Linked DNA regions of Homo sapiens: regions 2, 3 and 4 are each linked to region 1. Evidence: promoter capture Hi-C in 16 types of primary human blood cells and fetal thymus (Javierre and others, 2016). All regions are on one chromosome and are shown on one strand. The core of a region is centred on a gene start or on the middle of the fragment in contact, and the rest is flanking DNA. Distances in the headings are between cores, read along the strand shown.

Region 1 (5,242 bases), core at 2,671-5,170:
CTTCTTAATGCCCTTTCTCTTTTATTTGAAAACGTATTTCATAGTTCTAACTTGGGAGGAAAAGTGTGGGTAGTCTGTAAGATGCTTTAGTAATTAAGGGGCTAAAAAGGATACCTCAAAGGGTCTGTTTTTCCATTCTTCACAACTTAACTGCATAGCTATGGGTTTTAAGGGGAAATGCCTTGCATGGAGGCTAAGGAAGCAATTAGAAGCTCACACATTCTAAGTTCCAAATATGGCTCCTTCGGTGCTTATGACAACCTTGGGGAAAGCACTGGTGACTTAAAAAGAAAAAAAGGACAGCCATTTGACTGGCAAGTGTCAGTCATTCTGCTATTTGAAATTTGAGGCCAGGCGTGGTGGCTCACCTCGGGAGGCGGAGGCGGGCAGATCACAAGGTCAGGAGATCGAGACCATCCTGGCCAACATGGTGAAACTCCGTCTCTACTAAAAATACAAAAATTAGCTCGGTGTGGTGGCACGCACCTGTAATCCCAGCTACTGGGTAGGCTGAGGAAGGAGAATGGCTTGAACCTGGGAGGTGGAGACTGCAGTGAGCCGAGATCGTGTCACTGCACTCCAACCTGGTGACAGCGTGAGACACTGTCTCAAAAAAAAAAAAAAAAAAAGGAATTTGAGACAAAGTTTCAGAGACACTCTGCTATAGAAAGGTCTGAGAATATATTGTTTATCAAATGAAAGAAAAAGTACTTGCAATGACACTAAAGTTTATGCAGAGTTGAAAGAAGTAATAAAATTATAAATGACCTTGATTGGCAGGATGGTGTTCCTCATCCATGTCTTGCTCCATCTGTCCAATTAGTATGGGTTACTTGACTAACCAAATTCATTCATCTGTAAGTCCTTTGAACTATATACATTAAAGCTCATGCAAACCATTCCCTCAGAAGACCTTGCACCTTTTATGTATGTGAAAATCTGAAATCACACCCATTTCCCTAAGCTTCTGAGAACATTTGTATACAACAACCATCAAAAGCATATTTCCAATTATTCTTTTAGGTCCTTTTCAATTAATTAGGGGACTATGCCAATCTCAGGAAATCCTTGTGGAAAAAGAAGAAACACCATTAGAACAACACACGGAGTAACCAGTTTTGAGACTAATGCCCAAAAAATTAATTGGGAGAATTTTTTAGTAATTGAACCTGCATAGCTCTCTCTGCTGCTGAGGATTAGCACAAAGGGGCAATTTCTTAACATTACCAGGTGAACAGTAAGATCAAAGATGCTAGGCTTTGAGCTCGTGCCCATCTCCTCTGTGAGTACACAGGCAAGCACAGAAGAATTATTTTACAAAAAGCAGCATATATTATAAGCATTTTCATAAATACCTCAAATCCAACAGAGGATCTTTGTCTATTAACCAATCATTTAAAATAGCTATTGTCCTCCAAAACGCAGCCCAGTAAATATTTTTAAAATTAATATCCAGTAATATTTATACTCTTAATTTCTGAATCTGGATAAGGAAGATAACAAAACTTAAAATAACATTTTTCCCAGAGTGTTTATCAACTCTCTTACCATCAAATGTTAAATAAACTCTTGCTTGGGGCTGGGAAGATCCTTTCACACAGATAGAACAAATAAATACTCCAACCAACACGCAAATTGTCCGGAATGCCATTTCTTCAGATATGCAAGTTAATATCCAAGGGAAAATACCTTTAAGAGAGAGACAACATGTTTGTTATATCTCATTTCACATTTTAGGAGTAGGAAAAAACAGCAATCTAGACAAAACACCCTATTCACAAAAGAACCATCTGAACTTTTACAGTAATGCAAACAGTAGGAGGTGCTGTGTCTTTGCTTCTCAGATGTGAAAATGTGGATTTGATTCATTTGTGTCTGGAAGTCTTTGCAACAAGAGAAACTTTCATCTTCCAGCAAATTGATGCTACCATCAAAACAGAACAAAGCAGTGAAGAAAAACACTGATACCCAAAGGAAAGCCCAATATTTTAACGGATCTTCTCTCTAGAAATCCATTACATTAAAAAGACTTGAATAGAATTGAGCTAAAAGAATATTACTGGATGAGAACTCTTTCCCCCCACTAACGTAACAGCAGCAGCAAAATCTCACATGAGCATTCATGTGTACCTACTCACTTCAATAGTCATTAGCTCTTTTGGAGTAATTGTCTCTGGAAGTGGTGTTTCCTTACATAAATCTATGTGTGCTCAATCCTGGATCACTGAAGTCACTGGAATCAGTTATCTGCCATTTTATCCAGATGACCAACAGGCAGTTGTTAAATGATGCAGTTGAAGTAACCATGGACTAGTGCCAAATTCAAACCAATGACCTAGTGGTGAGCAATCCAGTGAGCCATGTATCCACCAATGCATATTTTAAATAAATCAACCAGAATGTGGGCTGTCAAAATTCCCAAAGATAAATCAAAGAGACAGGTGTCACTGCTTCAAACTATAGATATAAAATTGGTACATGCTATTAACTAATATCTGAATCCCAAGGAAGACCAGATAATGTGTTACCATAAACCTACAGGAGCTCTAGTGGCTACATCATGTAAAATAAACTCAGGACCATTAAAGAAACACAATCATTTTGCTTCTACCATAATTACACAATAAAGTGACCCAAGAGTCCAGTAAAGAAATTTATTTTTACAGGTTACAACAATGCTGATCTTCATTATTTGGCTTTTCAAATTAAAATTTCATAGTCAAAATTATTAAATTCTTTGTAAGAACCACTAACAACTGAAAAAGACAGCTTCATTAATACAGAATAAAAAGAATTAAATGGAATATGCAATTTTAAACAAAAATTGTAAGTAGATTTCCTAGGTGGTGCATATGTTATGAGAGTTAGAAATGAAATTGTACGCTTCTTTTACCACACAGATGGAGGAAACTCTAGAGATGTTTGTGTTGGTAATTTTCAAAAGAAACAGTTTCTTCCTGCTTCCACAACCTCTTCACCCTGTCATCCCTAAATTAACTTAGAAAGAAACTGATTTTATGGGTGACTTTCCCTCAGTAATTTACCCCTTGGTTCTGTTGACTTCATAGTTAAAGCCAAAAGAAAAAAACTATTAATATGCCTAACCTTTGTTATGTTTACTGAGCAAGTTGATATTATTTACACATTTTTTTTACATATTGGTATCTTACCTTATATGTTTCTCCCAAAAGTACATATACAACCAATTGCAAAGAATACTGGTGATACAATGGCAGGTGAAACGAAGATAGTCTACAGGGCAATTTGATTTACATCCCACCTAGTGATGAGGAGTGAAAGACTGAAAGCCAAGTGTCTTAAATACACCCCCGCCTCCCCAACAGTATCTTACAACTTCTTCCCTTTAACTCAGACACAGACGTTCCTCTTGGTGTTTTCACTTCTGCTGATCGCAAACTAACAACACATTAAGAAAAGAATTCTCTTATCTCCTCTGGAGCAATTTTGCCTTTGAAGGCACTGTAATACTCAACTTGAAACTCTCCGCAGGTGTCACCGCCTAAAGAAACAACTCGAGCAGGGCTCTCAGCAAGGGGAAAGCTTCCCTGACAAACCGCGTGTGTTCTTAAGAAAATGTCCAGGCTTGAGCATACCAATGTATGAAAAATCAATATACAGGCCAAAAAAGTTATACTTTGCTAAATCTGTAATGCGGAAAATGACCAATTTAGCTTACCGAGGTTGAAAGAAATCAGCACGGAAAAGTCATCAGTTTGCTACCGGGGTTGGATGCGCTTGTGTCTCCAGTCCTTTTCCCAGACGACCTTATTTTCTAGCACGTCGCAAAGGTGAAATTCTTTCTTCCCGGTCCTCTGAGTTTCTTTGTAAAGGAATCTCAGCGCTGCAGTGCCGCGGCACCCGGAGCTCTTCTCCGCGTCGCTCAATCAAGCACCTCGGAGTGAATGGAAAGTGGCCGGAGGCCGGGGGCGAGCGCTCTTGGTGTCCGATTACAGCGCCGCGGCGCGCGGCTCCGGCTGCCCCGGCGCGCCGCCCTGCAGGCTCGCATCACCACCGCGCAGCCCCGGCCGCATCTCCGCCAGCCGCGAGGCCCCACCCCGAGCGCGCCCGCGAGAGCCTGGCAGGGAGCCGCGGGGGCGGACCGGGCGGGGCCGACCCTTAGAGCTCGCGGCTGGCCAGACGCAAGAATGCGCGGCCGCAGGCTGGAGCCCTAGCTCCGCAACCCTGCTCCTTTCGCAGTCCGCGGCGGAGTGAGCAACTTGCTGGGTGCGCTCCACGGTTTTTGTTGCCGGCGGCTCTCGAAGACTTACACAGGCTTTGCCTGGCCGTAAATATCAAAGTGCAAAGCAGTTGTGGTTTTTTATTTTTGCCAGGGAAGGATCACTGCAGCCTTTTAAGGCAAAGAGATGCGTTTTTAAAAGGACGTGAGTTTTGTCCTTATTCTGCTGCGTTTTTTTTTTGTTTTTTGTTTTTTGTTTTTTGTTTTGTTTTTGGAGAGGGAATCTCACTCTGTCGCCAGGCTGGAGTGCAGTGCAGTGGTGTGATCATGGCTCACTGCAACCTCCGCCTCCCGGGTTCAAGCGATTCTCCTGCCTCAGCCTCCTGAATAGCTGGGACTACAGGCTCCCACCACCACGCCCAGCTAATTTTTGTATTTTTAGTAGAGACAGGGCCAGGATGGTCTGGATCTCTTGACCTAATGGTCCGCCCGCCTCAGCCGCCCAAAGTGCCGAGAGCCACCGCGCCGGGCCTCTGTTGCGTGTTTTCTAAAACAGGTCAAGATAAACGACAATCTTGTTGCACAAGTGTATCCTTTTAATGGGTATTGTTTCCTATTGAGTTTCCTTAATGCCCTGAAAGCAGTAATTCTGTTGACCCCTCCACGTTGACTCATATCCAGTACGTTGTCCCCAACCATACTCCCAAACATAATTACACGAAGAAATTATTTGACAATTCTATGTGGAGAGGCTGTTCTGAGTTATGCCAACAGATTGCCATAACCACACATCTACAGAAATACATCAGAGGTATTTTTCCAGCATTACTTTCAGGTACACTCGTTAAACTCTGGAACTGACTTTGATGTTTAAGTGAAAATTACTTCTCCGGACCACAATAAACTAGATGTTTAAACATCGGGAGAAATGAGCTTTGATCCCCATAAAACAAGCAGGCACTTGCTTAAAATCACTGTGGGGCACAGCCCAGCAGATGTCACTCTACAGAAGGAACGTGGAGTGTAATATCTCCACCTTATACC
Region 2 (5,463 bases), core at 1,762-4,261, 560 kb after region 1:
AAATGACCTGATGGAGCTGAAAACCACAATACGAGAACTTCGTGAAGCACACACAAGCTTCAGTAGCCGATTCAATCACGTGGAAGAAAGGATATCAGTGATTGAAGATCAAATTAATGAAATAAAGTGAGAAGACAAGGGTAGAGAAAAAAAGAGTGAAAAGAAATGAACAAAGGCTCAAAGAAATATGAGACTATGTGAAAAGACCAAATCTATGTCTGATTGGTGTACCTGAAAGTGATAGGGAGAATGGAACCAAGTTAGAAAACGCTTTTCAGGATATTATCCAGGAGAACTTCCCCAACTTAGCAAGGCAGGCCAACATTCAAATTCAGGAAATACAGAGAACCCCACAAAGATATTCCTCAAGAAGAGCAACCCTAAGACACATAATCTTCAGATTCACCAAGGTTGAAATGAAGGAAAAAATGTTAAGGGCAGCCAGAGAGAAAGGTTGAGTTACCAACAAAGGGAAGCCCATCAGACTAACAGCAGATCTCTCAGCAGAAACCCTGCAAGCCAGAAGAGAGTGGGGCCAATATTCAACAATCTTAAAGAAAAGAGTTTTCAACCCAGAATTTCATATCCAGCCAAACTAAGCTTCATAAGAGAAGGAGAAATAAAATCCTTTACAGACAAGCAAATGCTGAGAGATTTTGTCCCCACCAGGCCTGCCTTATAAGATCTCCTGAAGGAAGCACTAAACATGGAAAGGAACAACCAGTACCAGCCACTGCAAAAACATGCCAAATTGTGAAGACCATCAAGGCTAGGAATAAACTGCATCAATTAATGGGCAAAATAACCAACTAACATCATAATGATAGGATCAAATTCACACATAACAATATTAACTTTAAATGTAAATGGGCTAAATGCCCCAATTAAGACACAGACTGGCAAATTGGATAAAGAGTCAAGACCCATCAGTGTGCTGTATTCAGGAGACTCATCTCACGTGCGGACACACTTATGCTCAAAATGAAGGGATGGAGGAAGATCTACTAAGCAAATGGAAAGCAAAAAAAAAAGCAGGGATTGCAATCCTAGTCTCTGATAAAACAGACTTTAAACTAACAAAGATCAAGAGACAAAGAAAGCCATTAGATAATGGTAAAGGGATTAATTTAACAAGAAGAGCTAACTGTCCTAAATATATATATGCATCCAGTACAGGAGCACCCAGATTCATAAAGCAAGTTCTTAGAGACCTGCAAAGAGACTTAGACTCCCACACAATAATAACGGGAGACTTTAACACCCCATTGTCAATATTAGACAGATCAACAGGACAGAAAATTAACAAGGATATACAAGACTTGAACTCAGCTCTGGACCAAGCAAACCTAACAGACATCTACAGAATTCTCCACCCCACATCAACAGAATATACATTCTTTTCAGCACCACATCACACTTATTCTAAAATTGACCACATAATTAGAAGTAAAGCAAATGTAAAAGAACAGAAGGCCCAACAAACTGTACAATCAAATTAGAACTCAGGATTAAGAAACTCACTCAAAACGGCACAACTACATGGAAACTGAACAACCTGCTCCTGAATGACTACTGGGTAAATAACAAAATGAAGGCAGAAATAAAGATATTATTTGAAACCAATGAGAACAAAGACACAACGTACCAGAATGTCTGGGACACATGTAAAGCAGTGTGTAGAGAGAAATTTATAGCACTAAATTCCTGTAAGAGAAAGCAGGAAAGATCTAAAATCGACACCCTAATATCACAATTAAAAGAACTAGAGAAGAAAGAGCAAACAAATGCAAAAGCTAGCAGAAGACAAGAAATAAGATCAGAGCAGAACTGAAGGAGATATGAGGCACACACAAAAAAGTAATTCACAAACTCACAATTTCTTTTTTCTTTTCTTTTTCTTTTTCTTTTTTTTTTTTTTTTTTTTTTTTTTTTTTGAGACAGAGTCTCGCTCTGTTACCCAGGCTGGAGTGCAGTGGCACAATCTTGGCTCACTGCAAGCTCCGCCTCCCGGGTTCACGCCATTCTCCTTTCCCCTGCCTCAGCCTCCAGAGTGGCTGAGACTACAGGCGCCTGCCACCAAGCCCGGCTAATGTTTTGTATTTTTAGTAGAGACAGGGTTTCACCGTGTTAGCCAGGATGGTCTCAATCTCCTGACCTCGTGATCCGCCTGCCTCGGCCTCCCAACACAATTTCTTTAGCACCAGTCTTTAGAAATGACTGTGGGAATAGTTCAATTTATTGAGAAATACCTTTCTCCTCTTGCTTTATTTGGTGTTGTAACTCCTTCTTCTACCTTAGTTATTTCTATGCAGAGGTAATTTTCTAGTTGTAGAGTTAGTCACTGATGGACGCCACCTGATTATAGCAAGAGAAGGACTAGAATCATCATGTTCACTAGCACTAGGTTCTTGTGTCAGAGCACAGGACCAGGTTTCTGGAGGCTTCTATTCTGCCAGCAGAGCACAACATTTTTCAGTCACCAATGTGAGGTACAAAGAATGGGGATGATCAATGCCTTAATTCAAAAGTGTGATACATGTTTGACAATGAACAATTTATAGGTTGAAAAAAAAAAGATGTGGCAAGAAGTTCCATGTAATGAAACTTGAAAGCTTTTTAACATTCTGCTTTATAAAAACAGAAACATGAATCGTATAAAAACTGAACTAGTTTTAGATATTTCTTAATATAACATTTTCAAGATAATTTATGTAGAGCATCAGTCTAAGTGTATATTTACATTAACATGTAATAGAAAAAAGGGGATCAGGTCTGATCATCTTGTAAAGAGTTATGTTGGTGGTTGGAAGCGTGGAATTCAGACAAATAGATTATATTATGATTTGATGACAAATTATTACTTTTCTCATGACATTGTATGCATAAAAATATGCATTGTAAGAAATCTATGAAAAACTATGGGACTTCAATTCAATAGAATTTCTCCCTTAGGGTGGCATATATAAAGATTCATAAGAATAAGCAGAAGTATAGTACGCTAAGAAATGGAAATGTTATGAATTTGTAAGTGAAGTTTCTTTTAGTGCCACTAGATGGCATATGTTAGCTGTAAATCTCCCTTGAATAAAGTTTAAGATTTAACGTGACTTGTTTCCCCAGAGTATCCAACACATTTTATTTTAAATATTAATGGATTTTTATATGTTTTCTCAAATATATGACACTCAATACAATTAATAAATAATTGGAAAAATATCACATGATTATTTTTATATCAAGTTAAAACAAGAAGAATTATGTCATCTGCAAACAATTTTGTTGTCTTCCTTTCTAATTTGAATGTATTTTAGTTCTTTTTCTTGCCTAATGGTTCTAGCTAGGATCTCCAGTACTATGCTGAATAGAAGTGGTGTTAAGAAGCATTTTTGTTTTGTTTCTGGTGGTAGAGGAAAAGCTTTCAATTTTTAACCATTTAGTATGATGTTAGCTGTTGGTTTGTCACATATAGCCTTTATTATGTTGAGGCAACTTCCTTCTATACCTAGTCTGTTAAGAGTTTTTATCATTGTCAGGATGGCTGCAATATGGCGGAGTAAAAAGTCTCAGGCTACACACACTCCCCCCACCCCTTGTAAGCTTATCTAGCAATTATCCATAGACCAGAACATCTTCTTCAAAAGCCCAATATTGGAAACGAGCCTGAGACAATGTGGTACACATACCTAAGTGAAAATTGAGTGAGAAGGGTCAGAAGAATGGTCTCCCCCCCCGCCACCACGAAGTTGGCACAACACTGGTTGAAGAGCATTACCCTGGACCCATAGTTTCTGCAGTGGGGAAAGAGAACTGGAGGCAGTCATTCAGCTTCCCTAGCATTTTGAGATGCTTTCTTTCCAGGAATCCCGCCTGTCTCACCTCATAGGGAAAGAAAAGGGTAAAGGCATGGCTAGACCACCTGGGGTCAAGTAGAAACAAAGAAAGAAGGCAGAGGCCACAGTGACTAGCATATGGATCTGTGTGGCACCTCTGTGTTCACACCAGCTGCGGTGCCCAATCAGAGTTACCAGCCAACTTCATAGCCCACCCAGAAAGCTGAACTGATCTTTTTCAGAAGCACAGTGGGAAGTTCAGCCTTGCTTGAGTCCCTAGATGGCTAGCCTCCATGGCCAGGCACACAGCCTACTCTAACAACCCTGCCCAGGTAGGGAGATGCCCCCCTCTGCGCATTTTGAGAATCACACAGGCTAGATATCTTGGGTCAAGCAGTGGCTCCACTCATCCAAAAAGCTTGCCTTATAATCCTGCTGAGGCAGGGAGACAGCCACATGCATACATTTCTAAGAGGCACAAGGGCTAGACCTGTAAAACCTAGGAGTCCAAAGAGTAAGTAACTTAGCTCAGCCAAAAAGCCTGCCCAACAACCTCCCGTGTGCATTTTGCAGGAGTGTAGGAACTAAACCTGCTTGACGCAGGAAGTCAAGTAGCATCTTGACTCAGGCAAAAGTCCACCCTACAGCTCTGACCTAATGGAGGCAACCCTTAATCACACATTTTTAAGGAGCATAGGCTCTTGTCTTGCCCATCACAAGCAGCAACTTTCAAAGCCCAGCCTGAAGCCCTGCCCAAGTGCAGATTCCAAATAGTAAAATTGCCCAGCCAAGGAATACATCTTCTGACTACCCTGACCAGAGAGCATCACAGTACCAAGCCGGCAACTCTTCCTAATAGCGGAGCCCAACCAGTAGCTTCCTCTAATAGCAGAGCCCAACCATTGGTCTCTGCCTAACCAGTGGTCTCTCTGGACAGCAGAGCCCAGCCATCAGAGCAAAGGCAGTGGCCCAGCCAACTAGAGAAACCACAGCAAGTTCTGCCTGGAGTTGTCAGCCCTTTCAGAATCACAGGCTAGACTATTAGTGAAGGTCTGTTCCTACAATGAACACCTGTAAAGGCCAAACGAATGGACCATTTCTTCAAATGCACAGCAAATGCAAGGACACAAGTATTATAAAGAATCAAGGAATCATGACACCTCTACAGAAACTAATAAAACTGCAACAGCCAGAGGCAAGAAAAAGCTAAGCTCAAGCCCAGGACATATAAGTATAGTGGAGCTCCAATGAAAATTTAATTCTCATGGATGTCAGCTCCACCATGGTCAGGATCTTCATTATAAAGAAGTGAATCCTGGAATCAAGACGTCTGAAATGAGACACTTGATAAACTTGAAACTCAGACTTCTCTGAACTTTGTGGGCCTACAAAAGTGGCCTATTCCTCCCTGTTAAGAACTAGTGCTACCTACTGGCTTGAAGACAATCCCTTGCAATTTTACTTTCAGGTCATTCAGGATGAACCTCCAACTCCTCTCCTGGATATCAGACCAATAACTAGGATCAAGTCAAAATATAACCCAACTGACAAAGAGCTGATTCTATGGGGGAAGGAGAGCTGTGCACCAAAGAAGCTGCAAAACCTAGCTAGAGTGTACCAGCAGAAGCTGGGA
Region 3 (5,668 bases), core at 2,229-4,728, 520 kb after region 1:
AAGGGAGCGGGCTCCGGCCTTGGCCAGCCCAGAAAGGGGCTCCCACAGTGCAGCGGTGGGCTGAAGGTCTCCTCAATTTCCGCCAAAGTGGGAGCCCAGGCAGAGGAGGCACCTAGAGCGAGCGAGGGCTCTGAGGACTGCCAGCACGCTGTCACCTCTCACCATGATCCGTACTATAGATTTCTCCTTCCAGGATTACTATGATGTGCTCCTGATAGAACTCCCTGCTTTAACCCTTCACCCTCAAAGTCGATTCTCAACACAACAGCCAGACGGAACGTTTAAATCATAAGTGAGATAACGTCATTACTTTACACAGCACAAAAGACCCCTTTGCATTCATAGGGAAAGTTAAAGTTCCTAAAATAGCCAACAACATCCTACGACACTCTAACCACCACTATCCCGAGCTACACACAAATAACTTACCACTTGCCTCCTCGTCTTCTCTCCACTGCACTGACACTGTCTAGTCACACAAGCCTCCTTGCTGTTTCTGGACAGAACAGGCCTTCTCTCCACTTCAAGGCAGTTATCTTTGCCTACAATGACCCCCCACATATTGTGACACATCTCCTTGACCTGTACAAGATCTACTGTGAACTTTAAAATTTACTTTAAATTTACTCTAAAATTTCAACCTGCCCTGACTCTGTAGCTACTGATCACCTTCACTCTCTTCTATGTTTCACCTTTTATTACAGTGGGATGCTTTAAAAATATTATATTTAACAGTTTATTTATTTATTTATTTATTTATTTATTTATTTATTTATTTATTTATTTTTTGAGATGGAGTCTCACTCTGTCGCCCAGGCTGGAGAGCAGTGGCGCCACCTCGGCTCACTGCAAGCTCCGCCTCCCGGGTTCACGCCATTCTCCTGCCTCAGCCTCCCGAGTAGCTGGGACTACAGGGGCCCGCCACTACGCCAGGCTAATTTTTTTCTATTTTTAGTAGAGACGGGGTTTCACCATGTTAGCCAGGATGGTCTTGATCTCCTGACCTCATGATCCGCGCGCCTCGGCATCCCAAAGTGCAACAGTTTATCTCTTACTTCTAGAATGTAAGACCCATGAGAATGAGGATTTTTGTTGTTTTTCTGTTCAATGATACACACCAAATATTTAGAGCATTCCGTAGGATGTATTGGGTCTTTGATTAATAAATATTTGTTGAATTAATAAATTAACTTAGGTTTACTCTGTGAAATACATTTACAATGATATTGAAAAGAAAGTCTTTGGGAGGTATTGAATTCCCATGACAGAAAAAATTCAACCTGGGCAGGTTCTTCAAATTGGACAGTTTTGGGTGATGCTAACATTGAAAAGATAATTGGGTTCAATGACTGTGAAGTCTTCCCACTTGTCAATTATGTGATCCTTGAAGTGCAATCAAGGAGCACTGATGTGTAGATGGGAAAAGCATTCATAGAATAAAATAATTATAAAAATATGTATTCAGTAACTATTATGTGCCATTCAGGCTGCTGCAATTGGGCTACAGAAGGGGAACAAGACAAAGATCCTACTCACATAAAGATTAAATCTAGGGAGAAGACAGGCAATAGACAATTAAATGAGCATTTAATTAATATAAACATTAAATTAAATGATAATTTCAGGTCGTTTTAATTGCTATTAAAACAGGTAAAATGATAGAAAGCAAACCAACAGTATTGAAGCTAACTAGATAGTTTGGTGAGGAAATACTACTTGAGCTAAATCCTGAATGTGGAAAAGTCACCAGAGCAAATACTGAGGGAGAGCCACAGGAGAGAAGGACAGCAAGTACACAAAGGTCCTGAGAGTGACATAGCCTATTTGGGGTACAAAGAGAACGCCTGTGGCAAGAGTGAGGAACATGGCAAGGGGTTGAGGAGGAGAGCAGGGCTGGGGTGGTGGAGGTCACTGGAGGTGTCTCATTACTTTTGGATCATTATTTTGTTGCATCTGTGAAAGAAACACTTCATTTAGACAACTATATATGTTTAATAACACACTTGCAGCCATTATGAAGCTTAGGTATAATTATTATTTTCTTATTAGGCTTTTATTTTTGACATTTTTCTTCACTTCTGAAATAAAATAGGCTCACTCAACTTTCAATATTTTTTTTCTTAAGCTAAATTTACCTCTCTGGGGCTAAAATGTTCTCCTTTATTTGATATTTTCTGCCTAAATGTAGTGAGAAAGCCAATCCTTTACTGCATATAACTATTTTTCTGAAGTTTCAAAAGAAGACATTATTCTCTTATACTCTGAAGATTTATTTGTAAAACTTCTACAAGGAAGGAAGGGAAACCACAGAAAATTTTGAAGCAGGAGATGAAAAGTAAACACAGTAGCTTGTTGAAACATGGTTAGCAAATGAAGAGGAAGGCTGTAGAAAAAGAACTAAGAATTCTTTTCAGACCTGGAAAGTTGTTGGAATTAAGAACCCATGAACTGATAAAGTCGGGGTGAGAATGTTTCAGTTAAAGTCAAATAAATAGATTCCAAGAGACAAGGAAAATTGTGAATCTATCCAATCATTGAATAATCAAAAAAATGCTTTTTTATCTTTTGTTTTTTAAAAATGTAATTCAAAATTAATTTAAAAACAACTTTAAAATTGAGCTTTAGCTCTCGATATTATTAAATTATACAAGATGATCATAATATTTAAAAGTATATTGTTGATGACCCTTTATTTTCTAGAAACATTATCTTGAGTTATAAAACACTTATTTTTATTAAAAAAGACAAGAGAAATGAGACTTCTTTTTTCTTTTTTTAAGAAAAGTAACTGTCTAGCTATTTTATATCTGTAGTTTAGTTCTTCAGAAATAAAGCTGACATTTTAGTTTTTGTCAAAAATATGTATGGAAGATTTTGAGTTTAATTTTTTATGAAAGTATTTTTAGAACATAATTTAAAAATAAAACAGACATACTATGTACATCTAGAAATATATCTCAACAACTCATGTATCTGTCTAAGATATATTCATATAAATTAGGATACAGCAAGACAAACTATGTATATCTACATAATAAACTTGGATAATTTATGTAATTATCTCTATTTTGAACAGTTTAAATGCATTTTTTCTGCATTGAAAGTAATTTTTAAAATCGCAGTATCCTTCTCTCATTTGTTCTTAAATTACCCAGCCCACTAAAAATATTGAAACATATGTTTGACACATATATGATGCAAATTTTAGCAGCAGTTACCTTTGGGACTTGGGAAAGGTGGAGGGAGATTTAAGGGTGGAGGGAGTTGGAGGAGGAGAAACTCTCATATTTTACCCTTTGTATTCTATATAGAGCAAATTTATTATTATTATTTATTAAGTATGTATTATAATGTTAGATTTTTAAGGACAAGTAAAAATCTTGCTACAAAGAACTAAGAAACAGAATCTGCCTACGGATGTTTATTGCAGCTTTATTTATAATTGCCCAAACTTGGAAGCATCCTAGATGACCTTCGGTAGGTGAGTGAATAATTAAACTGTAGTGCATCCAGACCATGGGAAGAAATGAGCTATCAAGCCATGAAGAAACATGGAGGAAAACTAAGGGCACATTATTAAGTGAAGTAAGACATCTAGAAAGGCAACATACTGTATGACTGCAACTATATGACATTATTGAAAGGGCAAAACTTTGCAGACAGTGGAGACAGTGGTTGACAGGGCTTGTGGGGAAGGAGGTATGAAGAGGAAGAACACAGATGATCTTTAAAGCAGTGAAAATATTCTGTATGATACTATAATGATGGATACATGTCATTATACGTTTGTTCAAACCCATAGAATGTACAACACCAACAGCAAACCTTAATGTAAACTCTGGGGTTTGGGTGATAATGATATGTTGATGCAGCTCCGTTGATGGTGGCTAATGTACCACTCTGGTGAAAGGTGTCGAAAATGCAGAAGGCTATGCATGAGTTGGGACAGGGGTATATGAGAAATCTCTGTACCTCTCAATTTCGCTGTGAACCTAAAACTGCTCCAAAAAATTAAATCTTACAAAAACAGAAACAAAGAATACCTTTAAAAGGAGCTCATAGGATATTTGAAAAATACTTTAATCTTTGAATATAATATAACTTTTTAAAATGTTAACATAAAGACTTAAAAGCACTCTAATGTGGAGAAAGATCAGAATTTAACATCTCTTAGAATAATTTTTACAAAGATGTGTATTTTTCTCAACATACACAATGATTAAATCCCCAAAGAAAAGAAACCTCTTTACTGGGGCTAATTCTTTTTGGAATGTGTGGAAGTACATTATAAGGACTTCATGGTGATTTTGTGACAATGAGATGGAATAATCAAATGCAACACAAGATTTTTCCAATAAAACACACAGTGGATCTGGCCTCTGTACAGAAAATAAATATCTCAGGCATCTACAACTAGCAAGCCATTTTTTAAAATTAGACCCTGACATACAACCATGACTGATAAGATAAACTGCAGACACAATGTTTTTTTGCTGATAGGAGTAATGTTTTTGAATTCTTGAAATTCGTGTCTGAATTAGAATGCCTCATGTGTGTTACCTATTGATTTTTAAAAGGTTTATTAATATCCAATACTTACACTCTGTTATGATTCTAATACTAAGTAATCATTCTGAAGGGGCTTATAAATTTCTTAATTGAAAATTTTCTATTGTATAGTTTTTCCCCACTACAAAATAAAAGACTGTGTATTATTTAAGTTATAGTAAGTATTATGGCAGCCTGTAATATTTTACATTCTTTGACTTTAAGTAAATGTGGATTAGTATCTATGTTCCAACCTTTGCCCAATTCCATCCCTGTAATCATGAGGCAATATTTATACCTAAGACAATTCTTATCTTTGGAGTTTTGTGGAATGGCAACATGTGGGCAAATAGGATTAGGAAACCTGGTAGCGTGTAGTAAAGCTCATGAAGCTTCCCCTTTAACCAATATTAGCTCTCCTACCCGCTTTCTGGATTACTAGCAGTATCCTAAATGAGTTCAAGTTTGATTAGAAACCCTTAGATCAATGTGTATGCAAATATTTAAGCCCATGGTTTCTCTGTCATTGAAGGCAGAGTAAACGTAATTTTTTTTTTTTTTTTTTTTTTTTTTTTGCTCTGCCTCCCCTCCCACCTCCAAACCTTTGCCAAGGCTGTTGCCCTATCCTAGGCTGGATTCCCCTTTGGGCTGCCCCATGACTTGTCAAAAACATATCCTCAAAAGTTTAAGGGACTCTCAAAGCTGGATTTTTCTCAAAGGTGTCCAGAGCACTTCTTTTTTTTTTTTTTTTTTTGTCATCTAAATTTTTTTTAAAATTATTATTATTATACTTTAAGTTTTAGGGTACATGTGCACAATGTGCAGGTTAGTTACATATGTATACATGTGCCATGCTGGTGTGCTGCACCCATTAACTCGTTATTTAGCATTAGGTATATCACCTAATGCTATCCCTCCCCTCTCCCCGGCCCCACAACAGTCCCCAGAGTGTGATATTCCCCTTCCTGTGTCCGTGTGTTCTCATTGTTCAATTCCCACCTATGAGTGAGAATATGTGGTGTTTGATTTTTTGTTCTTGCAATAGTTTACTGAGAATGATGATTTCCAGTTTCATCCATGTCCCTACAAAGGACATGAACTCATCATTTTTTATGGCTGC
Region 4 (5,207 bases), core at 129-2,628, 540 kb after region 1:
CCTTCTGAAACCACAGATCATTTAATGAGGATGTGATGGCTTCTTCTAAAAAAATGTAATAGTGTTTTGTTATTCCCTTGTGGCAGGTTTTGTGTTTATTTTGATGTTTATAATGTAAGTACATCAATAAGGTTACTTTTTATTTGTTTGTTGATCTATTTATTGATCACAGATAATTAGGCAGAATAGCAGATGTGCAGAATGGCAGGCCATGTGTGATTTTTGTGTGTGTGCAGGAGGGGGCATGAAAATATATGTTTATTATAGCTTTTTGTCATATTCCTTGATCCTTCACCAATGTTAGATGAGTGAAAACAAAAGCAAAAACAAAAATTGGGGAAGAAAATCACTAGAAATCATTAGAAATTGAGTGAAACAAAAATAAGTGCTATAGAAAATTGCAGAAAATGGTATGCATCATTCTGTTTTAAATGAGCAAAATATACTACCATATATTTTGGACATTCAACTGATTTTTTGCTGCTAAGCAGAGAAACAGAAGTTACATTCTGAGTATTATGGATAAACTATTCTGTAACAGTAATTCTACGAAACTATTGCAGAGCATGCTAGGAAAAACAGATTCTGGGGATGATGTGTATTATGATTCATTTATTTACATTGCAGATGCTTAAGACACACACACATACACACACACACACACACACACAGCTCAAAACAGAAAAGGAAGTCAAATGAGGCTTTTCACTTATCATAGCATTATTAGATAGAATCAAATTTTAATGCAGTCCACACTGCTTCTGAATAAGCTTATGTTTAGCTCCCAAATCTCAATTATTGATAGTCTCTTATGATGACCCAGGAGAATTCTTAAACAATGAATCTCATTTTAGTGGTTGAAGGCACTCATTAGCTGAATCTGCTTGGGGCTGATAACTGATCACTACTTTGAGTAAGTCTTAATCTTTTCTTGTAATGCTCTCTCCTGGTATAACTGCATCTCTGTTTTCACATCCAGTCTTCCAAAATGCTCGCTACCTTATCCACTTCAGAGATAATAACAACAATTTCCATATGCATGATCTCTGCAGTCATCAAATGAAACATCTAGAGACGGTCACAGTATCTAGTCTAAGGAGGTCAGATCACTATTGCTGCCGTTAATTCAATGTAATTAGCCATCCTTCGCATTTGCTTTTCTTATGTTTCCACATTGGCCAATACAATCTTTAAAAAGTGAGTAGTCACAGGAAGGCATCAAAATACTCAACAAGTATATATGGTTGTACAGAGCCCACAAGCCCTCTACACTAGGAAATTTAGAGATCAGGCAAAGAATTGCTTGCTAAGATATTTAGCACATTTAAAACATTTTTTATTTTTATTATAGTTTTATTATAGTATCCTGGGTTAGCAACACAATAGTTAATTTCTGTTTTGTCTTCTGGAGAGGGCTTAGTAGTAGGGTTGGTTTAAGATCCCACAACTACAACTTAGATGAATCTGCTCATACCCACATTTAGAATTCTTCATCAAACCGCTTCTTATTGTTCAGAAGGCTCTCTGGTGAGTAGACACAAGAATTTAGCTTTTTATTTTTTTGAAATGATTCATGATTCTCAGAGCTTTAGTGCATCAGGTAGATACACATAAATTAGAAGAAAATTAGTGTATTTGTAGAAGTGACAGAGATATATCTTATTTGTACTGTTGTAATTATATACCATATGCATGCATTACTTTTTTTAACATTAAATAATCCATTTACAATTCTTATGAATGCTGAGACTTACCTTGTGTACTTCGAGATTCATATGCTGGAAATTTAATCCCCAGTGTAACAGTTTTGGGAGGTGGGGACTAATGGGAGGGCTCCACTCTCTTGAATGCCACGATGGAGATGTGGCTGGAGGGCTTAGGTGGGTCTCCAGATGCAGATAAGACCCTCACCCCATCCAGTGTCCAGGTTCTTGACACCATCACGAGAAAGAATTCAGGGAACACTCAGAAGGAAGCAAAAGGCAAGAAGCTTTTATTGCAAAGTGAAAGTATACAGTTAAGAGAGAAGTGTGCACATGTTCGTGAGAACGAGTTGTGCTCAATGGAGTTTGAGTTTCTAATTTTATGGGCTCTTTTAATTAGGGGACAGAATAATCATGAGCTTTTCCAGGAAAAGGGTAGAGAATTTTTAGAATTTGGGTGCCACCCATTTTTATACTAAATATGGATAGGCTCGGATCTGTCATGGTATTGGTAGGTGAGTGATTTAGTATGGTAATTAGTCTACAGTTAGGTTTGGGGTAGGACATTGGTCAAATCCAATGCCACATTGGACCCAGCCAGCCTCAGCTGCTTAGCCCCTATCCTGTTTGTTAGGGTCTTATCAGCCCAGGCCCATCCTTGCCCTTATAGCTAATTTTAATAGCTCCTGTCTTGCTGCTAGGTGAAATTGCTGCCTGGTATTTTCCTACTTCTACTGTGACCACCCAGCATTCCTGCTTTATGGGTGTTTCTTTAATTTGGGGGTAGAATAATCATTAGGTATTTTGGAAAAAGGGGATTTCAAGGACCCCTGGTTACCGACTCCTTTCTCCCTTATTTGGGTTTGCTTGGAAGAGTCCTGCACATGTCACCCTGACTGTGTTATTAGCTGTTTTCTCTCTCCTACTTTGGGTTTTCTGTAATCCTGTGGTTTCTCTGTCTTTTTCTTGTTTTTGCTGTTGTTTGGGTTTTTCCATCCTCCTGAGACTATCCAGTGCTATTCCTATCTCAAAAAGAGCTTGTGAAAGTGGGTTTTCTCTCTTCTGTTTTTCTGCCATGGGAGGACACAAAGTTCTTTTCTTGCTCTTCTATCTTCCACTCTGTGAGAGTGCAGCTAGAAGGACTTCAGCTCATGCTGCTGCTTTGATCTTGGACTTCCCGGACTTCAGAACTGTCAGAGAATAAATGCCTGTTTTTCTACAATTTACACAGTCTTTTGTACCCTGTTATAGCAGCACAAAGTGGTGCACAAGGTGTTCTAAGACCCCTTGGAAGCATTTTTTTAAATGAATGGGTCATTTTATAATACTTTTTGATTTATAGGTGATGGGTTGATGATGGGTGCAGCAAACCACCATGGCACACATTTACCTATGTAACAAACCTGCACATCCTGCACATGTACCCCGGAATTTAAAAACAAAAGTTGTAAAGATAGTGCCAAGACTTCCCAAATACTCCGTATTCAATTTTTTCTTGTTTTGTTTTTTTTTTAAGTTTAAATTTTTCATTTTATTGATAAGAAAAATGAGACTTGGAAGAGGCCAGGAGATACTGACTAGTTTGGGCCTATCCCATGCCAATTATCTTGTGAAATTTAGTCATTGCTGTTTTTATTATTATTATTATTATGCTTTAAGTTTTAGGGTACATGTGCACAATGTGCAGGTTAGTTATATATGTATATATGTGCCATGCTGGTGCGCTGCACCCACTAACTCGTCATCTATCATTAGGTATATCTCCCAATGCTATCCCTCCCCCCACCCCACAACAGTCCCCAGAGTGTGATGTTCCCCTTCCTGTGTCCATGTGTTCTCATTGTTCAATTACCACCTATGAGTGAGAATATGTGGTGTTTGGTTTTTTGTTCTTGCAATAGTTTACTGAGAATGATGATTTCCAATTTCATCCATGTCCCTACAAAGGACATGAACTCATCATTTTTTATGGCTGCATAGTATTCCATGGTGTATATGTGCCACATTTTCTTAATCCAGTCTACCATTGTTGGACATTTGGGTTGGTTCCAAGACTTTGCTATTGTGAATAGTGCCACAATAAACATACGTGTGCATGTGTCTGTATAGCAGCATGATTTATAGTCCTTTGGGTATATACCCAGTAATGGGATGGCTGAGTCAAATGGCATTTCTAGTTCTAGATCCCTGAGGAATCACCACACCGACTTCCACAATGGTTGAACTAGTTTACAGTCCCACCAACAGTGTAAAAGTGTTCCTATTTCTCCACATCCTCTCCAGCACCTGTTGTTTCCTGACTTTTTAATGATTGCCATTCTAACTGGTGTGAGATGACATCTCATTGTGGTTTTGATTTGCATTTCTCTGATGGCCAGTGATGGTGAACATTTTTTCATGTGTTTTTTGGCCGCATAAATGTCTTCTTTTGAGAAGTGTCTGTTCATATCCTTCACCCACTTTTTGATGGGATTGTTTGTTTTGTTCTTGTAAATTTGTTTTGAGTTCATTGTAGATTCTGGATATTAGCCCTTTGTCAGATGAGTAGATTGTGAAAATTTTCTCCCATTTTGTGGGTTGCCTATTCACTCTGATGGTAGTTTCTTTTGCTGTGCAGAAGCTCTTTAGTTTAATTAGATATCATTAGTCACAACTATATTAGCCACAACTAATGAACCAATATTAATACATTGTCATAAATAGAAGTCTACACTTCATTCAGATTTCCTTCCTTTCTATCTAATATCCATTTTCAGTCCCAGAATTCCATCCAGCATTCAATATTAAATTTAGTTGTCATGTTCTTGGAAGCATATTTCAACTCTTATTTTTCAACTTTTTCAATATCTATTAAAACAAAATTTTTGATCTTTCAGAATAACATTCTAAAATATTTTTACAATTATTTTAACATTTGAATGGTACTTTAAAATAATTTTATATACCTTTAAAGTTAATTTAAAAAAATCTCACTAAAATTTATAAAAACAATTATATGATGATACATAATTAAATATGGTATGGATCACATCATGTTATTGGAATATTTGGAAAGCATAAGGTAACAAAAGAAATCTCTGTAAACTCCCACTGCCAAGACGTAATAATTTGAAAATTTTCATTATAGTTCTTGTTTTGCTTTTATCTAGGTATCTATTTTTTTAAAAAAATACAAATCACATTGCGTTTAGTTTTCTTTTTCCTACTTAAAATGTAGACTATTTGCAAAAAGCACTTTCTTTGTTACAAAAATATTCTACTCCTATATAAGCCTTTATCTTAAAACTCATTTCCCTACTGGTAATTTAAGTCTGTTTCAAATTTTTCTCTTTATATGTAATTTCTAACTGAATTTTTTGACAATAAATATGTATCTCATTTTCAGACTTCTTTGGGAGCTTTGCGTTTATTTATCATTTGCCACTTTTCAAACAGAATTTGCAAGTGCACCAAAAATGCATATAATACATTTAGTACTTATTCTATGATAAAGTGTTAAGGTAG

Evidence for each region. Contacts are between HindIII fragments. The CHiCAGO score rates a contact against its expected background, and 5 or more counts as called.
Region 2: a contact is called between a fragment that was not itself captured here and the fragment with the promoter of SEMA3C in region 1, in 2 of 17 cell types (M1 macrophages and megakaryocytes). The highest score is 6.1, in M1 macrophages.
Region 3: a contact is called between a fragment that was not itself captured here and the fragment with the promoter of SEMA3C in region 1, in 7 of 17 cell types (megakaryocytes, erythroblasts, M2 macrophages and 4 more). The highest score is 18.4, in megakaryocytes.
Region 4: a fragment that was not itself captured here is called in contact with the fragment with the promoter of SEMA3C in region 1 in 8 of 17 cell types (megakaryocytes, M2 macrophages, M0 macrophages and 5 more); the score reaches 30.7 in megakaryocytes.

What each region holds. Positions count from the first base shown.
Region 1 is chr7:80,915,131-80,920,372 of GRCh38, forward strand. It overlaps SEMA3C (semaphorin 3C), which reads right to left and starts at 3,921. Exons shown (of 18, transcript NM_006379.5): 1 at 3,698-3,921; 2 at 1,549-1,689. The coding sequence starts at 1,651. RefSeq lists an enhancer at 3,441-3,510 and a silencer at 4,058-4,187. The HindIII fragment of the contact is 5,149 bases long and covers 3,560-5,242 here.
Region 2 is chr7:81,479,741-81,485,203 of GRCh38, forward strand. No RefSeq gene overlaps it. Among named protein-coding and RNA genes, the nearest start is that of HGF, 290 kb to the right of the region's middle. The HindIII fragment of the contact is 803 bases long and covers 2,611-3,413 here.
Region 3 is chr7:81,437,491-81,443,158 of GRCh38, forward strand. No RefSeq gene overlaps it. Among named protein-coding and RNA genes, the nearest start is that of HGF, 330 kb to the right of the region's middle. The HindIII fragment of the contact is 2,920 bases long and covers 2,019-4,938 here.
Region 4 is chr7:81,462,202-81,467,408 of GRCh38, forward strand. It overlaps the pseudogene EIF4EP4. Among named protein-coding and RNA genes, the nearest start is that of HGF, 310 kb to the right of the region's middle. The HindIII fragment of the contact is 1,220 bases long and covers 769-1,988 here.